Regions from separate parts of the Homo sapiens genome. Here all the other regions are linked to region 3. The links are contacts of gene promoters, found by promoter capture Hi-C in human tissues and cell types (Jung and others, 2019). All regions are on one chromosome and are shown on one strand. Each heading gives the region's core, a stretch centred on a gene start or on the middle of the fragment in contact. The rest is flanking DNA. Distances are from core to core; before and after follow the strand shown. Region 1 overlaps LOC124903670 (a long non-coding RNA gene). Region 2 overlaps MVP (major vault protein). Region 3 holds the start of NFATC2IP (nuclear factor of activated T cells 2 interacting protein). Region 4 holds the start of SPN (sialophorin).

Evidence for each region. The method cuts DNA at HindIII sites, captures the fragments that hold promoters and counts their contacts. A contact is called where the count stands out against the background at its distance.
Region 1: a contact is called between a fragment that was not itself captured here and the fragment with the promoter of NFATC2IP in region 3, in 1 of the 25 tissues and cell types used here (dorsolateral prefrontal cortex).
Region 2: a fragment that was not itself captured here is called in contact with the fragment with the promoter of NFATC2IP in region 3 in 1 of the 25 tissues and cell types used here (dorsolateral prefrontal cortex).
Region 4: the fragment with the promoter of SPN here is called in contact with the fragment with the promoter of NFATC2IP in region 3 in 2 of the 25 tissues and cell types used here (dorsolateral prefrontal cortex and lymphoblastoid cells).

Annotation. Positions count from the first base shown.
Region 1 is chr16:28,286,034-28,289,352 of GRCh38, forward strand. LOC124903670 (a long non-coding RNA gene) reads right to left here. Exons shown (of 2, transcript XR_007065033.1): 2 at 1-1,034. It also overlaps a transcript of SBK1 not described here. Among named protein-coding and RNA genes, the nearest start is that of SBK1, 4.8 kb to the right of the region's middle. The HindIII fragment of the contact is 6,033 bases long and covers 1-3,319 here.
Region 2 is chr16:29,836,641-29,839,872 of GRCh38, forward strand. It overlaps MVP (major vault protein), which reads left to right. Exons shown (of 15, transcript NM_005115.5): 7 at 82-318. Among named protein-coding and RNA genes, the nearest start is that of MVP, 18 kb to the left of the region's middle. The HindIII fragment of the contact is 6,347 bases long and covers 1-3,232 here.
Region 3 is chr16:28,949,121-28,952,375 of GRCh38, forward strand. It overlaps NFATC2IP (nuclear factor of activated T cells 2 interacting protein), which reads left to right and starts at 1,817. Exons shown (of 8, transcript NM_032815.4): 1 at 1,817-2,278; 2 at 3,012-3,084. The coding sequence starts at 1,892. RefSeq lists enhancers at 1,139-1,673, 1,693-2,193 and silencers at 1,913-2,012, 2,153-2,272. The HindIII fragment of the contact is 8,980 bases long and covers 1-3,255 here.
Region 4 is chr16:29,661,939-29,665,077 of GRCh38, forward strand. It overlaps SPN (sialophorin), which reads left to right and starts at 1,309. Exons shown (of 2, transcript NM_003123.6): 1 at 1,309-1,378; 2 at 1,757-3,139. The coding sequence starts at 1,791. The coding sequence ends at 2,993. RefSeq lists enhancers at 24-73, 714-793 and silencers at 974-1,033, 2,294-2,413. The HindIII fragment of the contact is 34,536 bases long and covers 1-3,139 here.

The DNA of each region.
Region 1 (3,319 bases), core at 20-2,519, 660 kb before region 3:
GCTGGGGCACTGTTTCTCACTGCAGAATGTACACTCCAAAAAGGGATGGAGAGATTCCAGGATCCATCACCCACTCCAGTGCTGCACGTCCCGGGCACCTGTGCCATCTTCCATCCGATCCATCTTGGGTTCTGTTGGACCTCTTGGTTTTCCTATCAGCAATAACTTGGCCTGTGTCTTCCAGTGGTCCCAGGGAGGAGGTTCTCCACTACAAAAGACCATTGTGCCTGGCACAGTGGCTCACACTTGTAGTCCCAGCTACTCAGGATGCTGAGGCGGGAGGATCTCTTGAGCCCAGGAGTTCAGAACCAACCTGGGCAATAGAGCGAGACCCCTTCTGAAAAAATAAAAAAATCACAGGCCAGGCACAGTGGCTCACGCCTGTAATCCCAGCACTTTGGGAGGCCAAGGCTGGTGGATCACCTGAGGTCAGGAGTTCGAGACCAGCCTGGCCAACATGGTGAAACCCCATCTCTACTAAAAATATGAAAATTAGCCAGGCATGCTGGCACGCCCCTTTAATCCCAGCTACTTGGGAGGCTGAGGCAGAGGAATCACTTGAACCCAAGAGATGGAGGTTGCCAAGATCACGCCACTGTACTCCAGCCTGGGCGACAAGGTGAGACTCCATCTCAACAACAACATCAACAAATCATAAATGTGGACCAACAAGCCAGGAATGCCTTCTCTCTGTCATGACTGGAGACACAAGGAATCAAGAGCATCACAGGACATGCTGGGGAAATCCCCAAATGCCATCAGTTTCCCAAAGCCTGGAGTCTATCAGTATGGCCAACTGAACACAGTGGCTCATGCCTGTAATCCCAGCACTTTGGGAGGCCAAGGCAGGCAGATCACCTGAGGTCAGGATGGCCAACATGGTACAACCCTGTCGCTACTAAAAATACAAAAATTGCTGGGCGTGGTGGCAGGAGCCTGTAGTACCAGCTACCCGGGAGGCTGAGGCAGGAGAATTGCTTGAAGCCGAGAGGTGGAGGTTGCAGTGAGCCGAGATCGCATCATTGCATTCCAGCCTGGGGGAGAAGAGCAAGACTACATCTCAAGAAATAAATAAATAAATAAAACTAAATAAATAAATAAAAATTAAATTAAAAAAAGAAAAGAGACTGGACTAGGTAGCTCACGCCTGTCATCCCAGCACTTTGGGAGGCCGAGGTGGGCAGATCACCCAAAGTCAGGAGTTTGAGACCAGCCTGACCAATATGGTGAAACCCCATCTCTACTAAAAATACAAAAAAAAAAAAATTAGCTGGGCATGGTGGCACGTGCCTGTAATCCCAGCCACTTGGGAGGCTGAGGCAAGAGAACTGCTCGAACCTGGGAGGCGGAGGCTGCAGTGAGCCGAGATTGTGCCATTGCTCTCCAGCCTGGGTGACAGAGCAAGACTCCATCTCAAAAAAAAAAAAAAAAGAAGAAAGAAGGAAAATAAAATCATGGCTAAGTTTTTTCTTTGTGTTCCGCTATCCAAATTATACCCATCAAGACCCTCTCTGGAGAGGTGGCACCTTTGAGCTGGCAAGAGTGGCTTATCCCTAGGCGTCAGGGACAAAGGACTGCACCATTGCAGGCTGCTACTTCTTTTTTTGTTTTTGTTTGTTTGTTTTTGGTTTTGTTTGCTTTGTTTTGAAAGACAGAGTTTCACTCCGTTGCTCAGACTGGAGCGCAATGGCACAATCTTGGCTCATGGCAACCTCTGCCTCTCCAGTTCAAGTGATTCTTGGGCCTCAGCTTCCCGAGTAGCTGAGACTACAGGTGCGTGCCACCATGCCCAGCTAATTTTTGTATTTTTAGTAGAGATGGGGTTTCGCCATGTTGGCCCAGGCTGGTCTTGAACTCCCAAACTCAGGTGATCTGCCCACCTTGGCCTCCCAAAGTCACCACTTCTGTGCCTCTCTTCAGATGTGTTGTGTTGGTTCCATCCTCTGAGAAGCAGGCAAGGTGGGCCAGATGTGCAAATGATTTATTGAGGAAAACCCTTGGGAGGGACCAAGAAGGAGGGAGGAAGAGGAAGCTGGGAAGATCATCAGACTGTACTAGATCTAACACGTGGAAAAGAGAGACAGAAGGAAGGATGATGGGAGAGGAAGAGTCTTCAACTGCAGTGCAGTGAGAAAGTTTTTACAAAGTCAAGGGGGAGTCCTTGATCCAAAGCTGCCTGTTCGAGGAGTCCTGTGTCTCCACGAACAGACGCGCCTTAGTTCTTTGGCTGGGATCAGCTCGTGGGAAGCAAACCAGAGCCTTCCTGTGTGAACCACAGATGGGTTTCACAGCTGCTGCCCTTGGTCAATGACTTTTCCTGAAGTCAGAGGTCTGAATGGCACATTTTCAGGGCCGTCACCTTCCATCCCTTGCACTACTCAGCTCTACCATGGATCCTGTGAGCCTCTCTTTCTATGGGAAAACTTTGAAGAGGGAGATTAGTGGAACATGCTAGAGCCCCCGCCTCCTTGCTGCAGTTATCGAGAGGCCATAACCAGCGCTTGTTCTTTCTTTCTTCACTATCCATTCTAAATTATCCACACTCTCCACCGTCGCCTTGGCAGGCCTTGGTGGGTTACCTGGTGATGTGACCCGACCCTTCAGTCCTGAGGGACCTAAATTATTGGTTATTGTAACCCATGGATCACTGGATTCCCATATATTCCTCCTTGTCCTCCCACTGTAAAAGCAGCCCTGCCCTCTCTGCTGACCAGGGTCAGTTAGTGCAGCCATGCTGGTGCCCTCTCTTCTCACCTGCTGGTCCCAGAACACATGGAGTCCAAAGTTTCCCAGCCCCGGCCACAGCTTAAATTTAATGGGACCCATGCTGTGTCCCCTGGCTAGAGCATACCCTCTTTGGGGACCAGGACTTCCCTCCCTGTAGAACTGAGAGGGAGTCGGGAGGGGGACTTAATTACCCACAATGCATGCCAGCAAACCTTTACTAACTGCACTATGGGTAATCAAAGCCCCAGATAAGGAATCAGGGAAGGTTTCCGCAGAAGGTGGCCTTGAACTGGGCAACCCTTGATTAACTGTGGCTAGGGGCACTGCAAAGCTTGATTTGACTCCTCCCCTCTCTAGGTCTGTTTCTTCCTCTGCAAAAAGAGGAAAGTGCTCTCTAAGTGCTAACATTCTGAGACTCAGCTTTTAGACACAGAATGTTTTCTTCCTGCTTTCTCCCTCTCCAGCCCCCTCTTCTGCACACCCAATAACTCAAATCCCTCTATTAGTTTATTTACGGCACTAAGGCCTTGGAGAGGATTAGAACAAAGTTAGAATGAAATCCGAAACTCCTCTACATTGGCAGGACAAGGAG
Region 2 (3,232 bases), core at 396-2,895, 890 kb after region 3:
AGCATTTGGTGGCCAATGGGGCTCGCAGATCCCCTGAAGTTGGAGGCAGGTCACTCAAATACCCAACATGTTGCTCTGCAGACAGCCCTGCACCTCCGGGCTCGGCGGAACTTCCGGGACTTCAGGGGAGTGTCCCGCCGCACTGGGGAGGAGTGGCTGGTAACAGTGCAGGACACAGAGGCCCACGTGCCAGATGTCCACGAGGAGGTGCTGGGGGTTGTGCCCATCACCACCCTGGGCCCCCACAACTACTGCGTGATTCTCGACCCTGTCGGACCGGATGGCAAGAATCAGCTGGGGCAGAAGCGCGTGGTCAAGGTGAGGTCCCTACACCCCCACAGAGGACTGCCCTGGGAGATGTATGTCCTCTAGTGGCATGAGGCCCTCTGCCTTCTCTCCTCCAGACGCACGTTCTAGGAACACCTTCTGTGCCTTTGCATGCTTAGTTCTTACACACCTGAGACACTGGCCCATTTGATTCCTGGCAGCCTCTGACTTACCCCTCAGACCTGAAGTTAATTCCCCTTCTGGGAAGGCCTCCTGGCTACCCGCTGCCTGAGACTCTGAAACTCTGATACAGTCATGCGCCACTTAATGATGGGGATACATTCTGAGAAATAGTCCTTAGATGATTTTGTCTTTGTGCAAAAGAGTGCACTTATGCAAACCTAGATGGCACCTAGTCTAGATGGCGTAGCCTGCCCCTAGGCTGCCAACCTGTGCAGCATGTGACTGTCCTGAATACTGCAGGCAGCTGAACACAATGGCAAGTACTTGTGTATCTAGCCATAGAAAAGGTAAGGTAAAAATACAATATAAAAGCTTCGTTATAGGCCAGCACAGTGGCTCATACGTGTAATCCCAGCACTTTGGGAGGCCGAGGCAGGTGGATCACTTGAGGTCAGGAGTTCGAGACTAGCCTGGCCAACGTGGGGAAACCCTGTCTCTACTAAAAATACAAAAATTAGCCAGGTGTGGTGGCACACACCTGTAATTCCAGTTACTCGGGAGGCTGAGGCACGAGAATCACTTGAACCCTGGAGATCAAGCCTGTGGTGAGCCGAGATCGTGCCACTGCACTCTAGCCTGGGCGATAGAGTGAGACTCTCAGAAAAAAAAAAAATCTCCATTATAATCTTACGGGACCACCATGTGCAGTCTGTAATGGACTGAACTATCATGCAGTGACTATATTTCACATCTTTAATATCCTGGTGTTCACTTTGCTTTGTCATCTTTTGTAAAATAAACCTCTTGGTTTACCCTCTCCCACCCCCTACTTCATCCCCTCTCTGAACTATATGTGGGAATACCAGCAGTTGCCAAACTCATTCTGTAAAGGGGGCTGGATGGTAGATACTCCAGGCTCCGTGAGTCATTGTTTCTGTGGAAGTTCTTCAACTCTGCTGTTATGTCAGGAAAGCAGCTTGGGCACTACGTAAACAAGTGAGTACTGCCATGCTCCTGGAATAGTTTATCTGCAAAAACAGGAGGCAGAAAAAGTAGAAATAGGCCAGGCATGGTGGCTTACATGTGTAATCCCAGCACTTTACGAGTCCAAAGCGGGTGGATCGCTTGAGGTCAGGAGTTAGAAACCATCCTGGCCAACATGGCAAAACCCTTTCTCTACTAAAAATACAAAAAAATTAGCTGGGCATGGTGTCAGGCACCTGTAATCCCAGCTTCTCTGGAGGCTGAGGCAGGAGAATTGCTTGAACCCGGGAGGCGGAGGTTGCAGTGAGCCGAGATCACACCACTGCACTCCAGCCTGGGTGACAGAGCAAGACTGTCTCAAAAAAAAAAAAAAATTAGAAATAACCCAAATGTACATATATAATGAATGGATAAAAAATTGTAGCATATCCATACAATGGAATATCATTCAGCCATAAGAAAGAAATGGCAGGCCAGGCGCAACAGCTCATGACTATAATCCCAGTGCTTTGGGAGGCCGAGGCAGGAGGATTGCTTGAAGCCAGGAGTTTGAGACCAGCCTGGGTAACATAGTGAGACCCCATTTTTACAAAAACTTTTAAAAATTGACCAGGCATGGTGGCACACCTGTAGTCCCAGCTATTTGGGAGGCTAAAGTGGGAAAATCGCTTGACCCCAGGAAGTGGAGTGTATAGTGAGCTATGATTGTGCCACTGTACTCCAGCCTGAGGCAGTAGAGTGAGATCCTGTCTCTAGGAAAAACAAAAAATAATGACATACGTGCTACAACATGGATAAAATTGAAAATGTTATGCTAAGTGAAAGAAGCCAGCTGGACGCAGTGGCTCACGCCTGTAATCCTAACACTTTAGGAGGCTGAGGTGGGCACATCACCTGAGGTCAGGAGTTCAAGACCAGCCTGGCCAACATGGTGAAGCCCCGTCTCTGTTAAAATACAAAAATTAGCTAGCATGATGGCGGGTGCCTGTAATCCCAGCTACTGCTCGGGAGGCTGAGACAGGAGAATCTCTTGAACCTGGAAGACAGTAGTTGCAGTGAGCCGAGATCCCACCACTGCACTCCAGCCTGGGCTGCTGAGCCGAGACTCCATCTCAAAAAAAGAAAAAGAAAAAAGCCAGACATCAAAGACCACATATTGCATGATTCCATTTATGTGAAATGTCCAGAATAGGTAAACACATAAAGAAAATAGACTAGTGGTGGGTGGGGTAGGTGGGGAGTGGCAGTAACTTCTAGGTACAGGATTTCTTTTCAGGGTGATGACGAAAATACTCTAGACTTAACATAGCAGTGATGGTTGGACAACTTTGAGTATACTAAAACAACTGAATTGTGAATTGTATACTCTAGATGGGAAAATTTCATATGTGGATTATATCTCAAAATTTTTTTAAGAAACAGGCGGTGCTGGGCGTGGTGGCTCACATCTATAATCCCAGCACTTTGGAAAGCTGAGGTGGGTAGATCGCTTGAGTCTAGGACTTTGAGACCAGCTTAGGCAGCATGGCAACACCCCATCATCTACGAAGCACACAAAAATTAGCTGGGTGTGGTGATGCGCATCTGTAGTCCCAGCTCCTTGGGAGGCTGAGGTGGGAGGATTGCTTGAGCCTGGAAGGTTGAGGCTGCAGAGAGCTGAGATCATGCCACTGCACTATCCAGCCTGGGCAAGAGAGGAAGACTATCTCAAAAAAAAAAAAAAAAAAAAAAAAAGGCAGAATCCAGATTTGGCCTGAAAACCAGAGTTTGTCAAGCCCTAGGTTACACCATCTCTAGA
Region 3 (3,255 bases), core at 567-3,066:
ATGGTGAAACCCCGTCTCTACTAAAAATACAAAAATTAGCTGGGCAAGGTGGCAGGCAACAGTAATCCCAGCTACTCGGGAAGCTGAGGCAAGAGAATCCTTTGAACCCTGAAGGTGGAGGTTGCAATGAGCTGAGATCGCACCATTGCACTCCAGCCTGGGCAACAGAGCAAAACTCCGAATCAAGAAAAAGAAAAAAATAAAATAAATAGTCGGGCGCAGTGGCTCACGCCTGTAATCCCAGCACTTTGGGAGGCCAAGGCGGGGGCGGAGGGGGGTGGATCACCTGAGGTCAGGAGTTCAAGACCAGCCTGACCAACATGGTGAGACCCCATCTCCACTAAAAATACAAAATTAGCTGGGCATGGTAGTGCACGCCTGTAATCAATCCCAGCTACTTGGAGACTGAGGCACGAGAATTGCTTGAATCTGGGAGGCAGAGGTTGCAGTGAACCGAGATCGAGCCATTGCACTCCAGCCTGGGCAATAAGAGCGAAACTCCATCTCAAAATAAATAAATAAATAAAATTAAATAAATGAATAAAATAAAATTTAAAAATAAATAAATACATAAGATTTTTTTTTGAGATGGAGTCTCACTCTGTTGCCCAGGCTGGAGTGCAGTGGTACAATCTTGGCTCAGTGCAACCTCTGCCTCCTGGGTTCCAGCGATTCTCCTGCCTCAGCCTCCCGAGTAGCTGAGATTATAGGCGCCTGCCACTACGCCTGTCTAATTTTTGTATTTTAGTAGAGACAGGGTTTTACCATGTTGGTCAGGCTGGTCTCGAACTCCTGACCTCAGGTGATCTGCCCACCTCGGCCTCCCAAAGTGCTGGATTATAGGCGTGAGCCACCACGCCCAGCCTTATTATTTCTATCTTTCTTTCTTTTTTTGAGAGAGAGTCTCGCTCTGTCGGCCAGGCTGGAGTGCAGCGGCAGGATCTGGCTCACTGTAACCTCTGCCTCCCGGGCTCAAGCAATTCTCCTGCCTCAGCCTCCTGAGTAGCTGGGATTACAGGCGCACGCCACCACGCCCGCCTAATTTTTGTATTTTTAGTAGAGACGGGGTTTCACCGTGTTGGCCAGGCTGGTCTTGAACTTCTGACCTCGTGATTCGCCTGCCTCGGCCTCCCAAAGTGCTGGGATTACAGGCGTGAGCCACCGCGCGCGGCCAGCCTTATTATTTCTTTAAAGCATTTTTGAGACAGGGTCTCGCCCTGTCACCCAGGCTGGGGTGCAGTGGTGCGATCTCCGCCTCCCGGGCTCCAGCGAAACTCCCACCTCAGCCTCCTGAGTAGTTGGGACCACAGAGGGGTGCCACCACGCCCGGGTAATTTTTGCATTCTTAGTAGAGACGCGGTTTCGCCACATTGGCCAGGCTGGTCTCAAACTCCTGAGCTCAACCAATCTGCCCGCCTCAGCCTTTCAAAGTGCCAGGATTACGGGCGTGAGGCACCGCGCCTGGTTAAATCCGCGGTTTCCACAGGGAATTCCAGGCCCGCCTTCCTTCTCCCGGAAACCTTACCGCTCGAGGACTACATTTCCCAGGATGCCCTGCGACTAACCAAGCCGGAAGACGGTTGTCTTGGTTGGGCGGGTCCGGGAGAGGCTCGTCTGTGGAGAGGTGGCCCAGCCAATGGGTGAGGCCGACTGAATCGAAAGCTACGGTGATTGTGCCGAGGTGATTGGAATCTTTGGCGCCTTGGTTTCAGAGGTGGGCGCATGATGAGCGGGTACAGAGACCAATGAAAAGGCGGGAAGGCGGATCCCGCGCGTGGGGCGCGAAGAGTTGCTGACGAGCAGGCTGTTTGTCCAATGCAAGGCGAAAGTCGCTGAAGGGGGCGGGGCGAGGCGAGAGGAGGCGGGCGTGTGTTGTGGAGGAAAGTGTGCCATGGCGGAGCCTGTGGGGAAGCGGGGCCGCTGGTCCGGAGGTAGCGGTGCCGGCCGAGGGGGTCGGGGCGGCTGGGGCGGTCGGGGCCGGCGTCCTCGGGCCCAGCGGTCTCCATCCCGGGGCACGCTGGACGTAGTGTCTGTGGACTTGGTCACCGACAGCGATGAGGAAATTCTGGAGGTCGCCACCGCTCGCGGTGCCGCGGACGAGGTTGAGGTGGAGCCCCCGGAGCCCCCGGGGCCGGTCGCGTCCCGGGATAACAGCAACAGTGACAGCGAAGGGGAGGACAGGCGGCCCGCAGGACCCCCGCGGGAGCCGGTCAGGCGGCGGCGGCGGCTGGTGCTGGATCCGGGGGAGGCGCCGCTGGTTCCGGTGTACTCGGGGAAGGTGCGCCCGGTCCCGGGGAGGGGACCGGCGGAAGGGCCAAGGGCTTGGCCTCCAGGGAGGGGCCGGCGTTCGGGGAGGGTAGGGCTATAGGGGTGTTGAGGCTGGCGTTCTGGGGCTGGTCCTCGGGCGTTAGGGTGTTGGAGGCAGGGAGAGGCAGGGCTCCGGGACTTTCTGCAGACTGGGGTGGTGAAGGAGGGTGGGATGCGTTGGAAGTTTAGGATTCCTAGGAGCTAGAGTCTTGGGGGCACAGGGAGGCTGAAGAGCTGGGATTCCTGAGATTTTGGAGAGGGACTGGGAGGACCTGGGGCCGTTGGATTTTGAGGTTGGGGTCCATGGCAAATGAAGCCAGGGAGCTGCAGTATTGGGGGTTGGGGTCCATGCGGGTTCAGAGAGGACTGGGCGGCTCCAGAGGCTGGGGTCCCCCGATGGTCGTGTGAGCAATGGGCTGAGAGTCCCTAAGAGTCAGGGGTAGAGGGGCGGCTAGTAACCTAGTTAAAAAGGGCAAGGAAGCATACATTTCAGAGTGTCTTAGGCAGATGGAGGAAAGGGTGAAGGGTACTTCCATTCTGAATCCTGGGGAAGCTGGACTTCTAGGTTGCCAGGAGAGGGCCAAGGTGTCCACGATCTTAGGGAGGATTTGGGAGCTGGGTGTCAGGGAAGAATTACCCCCAATTTTTTCTTTCGGTAGGGGAAGGACTTGGGCCTGACCCCTCTCCCTTCTTTGTCTTTGCAGGTTAAAAGCAGCCTTCGCCTTATCCCAGATGATCTATCCCTCCTGAAACTCTACCCTCCAGGGGATGAGGAAGGTAAGGGAGGGCCTCCAGGGAGAGGCACGCAGCCGCTGGCTTCTCTTAAGAGAATTCCTGGGGTTTATATTCCTGCAGTCAGTTGTCTCCTGAGGCTCAAGGGAAGAGCGTGGGAGAGGGGACTCCTGCATCCCAGCCACAGGAGCTGGATTGTTAACAAGCATAGAATGT
Region 4 (3,139 bases), core at 59-2,558, 710 kb after region 3:
AATGGCACAGTCCCACGGGCCTGTTAGAATCTTCTATTGTGCACATGTTGCTCTTAAAATATACAAATCAGTTTTGATTTTAAAAAATTATTTATTTTTTTAGTGATAGGAGTTTTGCTACGTTGCCCAGGCTGGTTTCAAACTCTTGGGCTCAGGAGGTCCTCCCACTTTGGCCTGGACTGCCAGCATAATGTATCACCACACCCGGGACTGATTTTCGTTTTTCAAGAACAAAAACCAAAAACATACACAAACCGAGAGTCAAAGCTTGCTAATTAGAGGAAAGTCAGGAAATGGGAACCATTCAAAGAAGAAAATACCCCCACCTCCTACTCTCACCTATCCAAAGACAATTAGGTGAATCCCTTAGTAGATATCTTTCCAGACGGTTTTCCATATAGATTCCCATATCTGGCCAGGCGCGGTGGCTCACACCTGTAATCCTAGCGCTTGGGGAGGCTGAGGCGGATGGACCACCTGAGGTCAGGAGTTCGAGACCAGCCTGACCAACATGGAGAAACCTCGTCTCTACGAAAAATACAAAATTAGCCGGGCACAGTGGTGCAAGCCTGTAATCCCAGCTACTCAGGAGGCCGAGGCAGGAGAATTGCTTGAACCTAGGAGGCAGACATTGTGCTGAGCCGAGCCAAGATCATGCCATTGCACTAAACTCCGCCTTAAAAAAAAAAAAAAAGATTCCCACATCTTTACTAGTTTGCAGAAATAAGATCCTAGCATATGCAGTGTGTAGGAACCACCTTGGTTTAGCCACGTCTCTGTGACTGGGGGCCACTGTGGTGACCCCCAGCTCCCCGGACAGAGTCAAGAGCTCACCAGCCTGCAAAGGTTTTCACGGCCCCCAGCCAGACTCGGGGGCTTCCTCTTGCCCTGCTACTTCCTGGGAGCTCTGAGGGCAGGAAATGGCGCCACTCAGCTCCTGGCCTAACAGCTTGGGGACCACAAATGCAAAGGAAACCACCCTCCCCTCCCACCTCCTCCTCTGCACCCTTGAGTTCTCAGGCTCACATTCCCACCACCCACCTCTGAGCCCAGCCCTCCCTAGCATCACCACTTCCATCCCATTCCTCAGCCAAGAGCCAGGAATCCTGATTCCAGATCCCACGCTTCCCTGCCTCCCTCAGGTGAGCCCCAGACCCCCAGGCACCCCGCTGGCCCCTGAAGGAGCAGGTGATGGTGCTGTCTTCGCCCAGCAGCTGTGGGAGCAGGCGGGTGGGGCAGGATGGAGGGGTGGGTGGGGTGGGTGGAGCCAGGGCCCACTTCCTTTCCCCTTGGGGCCCTGTCCTTCCCAGTCTTGCCCCAGCCTCGGGAGGTGGTGGAGTGACCTGGCCCCAGTGCTGCGTCCTTATCAGCCGAGCCGGTAAGAGGGTGAGACTTGGTGGGGTAGGGGCCTCAGTGGGCCTGGGAATGTGCCTGTGGCTTGAAAAGACTCTGACAGGTTATGATGGGAAGAGATTGGGAGCCATTGGGCTGCACAGGGTCAGGGAAGGCCAGGAGGGGCTGGTCACTGCTGGAATCTAAGCTGCTGAGGCTGGAGGGAGCCTCAGGATGGGGCTGATGGGGGAGCTGCCAGCATCTGTTCCTCTGTCATTTCTGATAACAGTAAAAGCCAGCATGGAAAAAACCGTTAAACCGCAGGTTGGGCCTGGCCGTTGGCAGGGAAGTGGGCAGAGGGGAGGCCCGGCCAGGTCCTCCGGCAACTCCCGCGTGTTCTGCTTCTCCGGCTGCCCACCTGCAGGTCCCAGCTCTTGCTCCTGCCTGTTTGCCTGGAAATGGCCACGCTTCTCCTTCTCCTTGGGGTGCTGGTGGTAAGCCCAGACGCTCTGGGGAGCACAACAGCAGTGCAGACACCCACCTCCGGAGAGCCTTTGGTCTCTACTAGCGAGCCCCTGAGCTCAAAGATGTACACCACTTCAATAACAAGTGACCCTAAGGCCGACAGCACTGGGGACCAGACCTCAGCCCTACCTCCCTCAACTTCCATCAATGAGGGATCCCCTCTTTGGACTTCCATTGGTGCCAGCACTGGTTCCCCTTTACCTGAGCCAACAACCTACCAGGAAGTTTCCATCAAGATGTCATCAGTGCCCCAGGAAACCCCTCATGCAACCAGTCATCCTGCTGTTCCCATAACAGCAAACTCTCTAGGATCCCACACCGTGACAGGTGGAACCATAACAACGAACTCTCCAGAAACCTCCAGTAGGACCAGTGGAGCCCCTGTTACCACGGCAGCTAGCTCTCTGGAGACCTCCAGAGGCACCTCTGGACCCCCTCTTACCATGGCAACTGTCTCTCTGGAGACTTCCAAAGGCACCTCTGGACCCCCTGTTACCATGGCAACTGACTCTCTGGAGACCTCCACTGGGACCACTGGACCCCCTGTTACCATGACAACTGGCTCTCTGGAGCCCTCCAGCGGGGCCAGTGGACCCCAGGTCTCTAGCGTAAAACTATCTACAATGATGTCTCCAACGACCTCCACCAACGCAAGCACTGTGCCCTTCCGGAACCCAGATGAGAACTCACGAGGCATGCTGCCAGTGGCTGTGCTTGTGGCCCTGCTGGCGGTCATAGTCCTCGTGGCTCTGCTCCTGCTGTGGCGCCGGCGGCAGAAGCGGCGGACTGGGGCCCTCGTGCTGAGCAGAGGCGGCAAGCGTAACGGGGTGGTGGACGCCTGGGCTGGGCCAGCCCAGGTCCCTGAGGAGGGGGCCGTGACAGTGACCGTGGGAGGGTCCGGGGGCGACAAGGGCTCTGGGTTCCCCGATGGGGAGGGGTCTAGCCGTCGGCCCACGCTCACCACTTTCTTTGGCAGACGGAAGTCTCGCCAGGGCTCCCTGGCGATGGAGGAGCTGAAGTCTGGGTCAGGCCCCAGCCTCAAAGGGGAGGAGGAGCCACTGGTGGCCAGTGAGGATGGGGCTGTGGACGCCCCAGCTCCTGATGAGCCCGAAGGGGGAGACGGGGCTGCCCCTTAAGTGTCGGTGAATAGTGAGGCTGGAGGCCGGAATCTCAGCCAGCCTCCAGCACCTTCCCTCTCACCATCCCACTGCCCCCTCGCTCCCATGTTTCCACCCGGCACCCTGATCCTCACCCGAATCTCCTTTTTTTTTTTCTTTTGAGA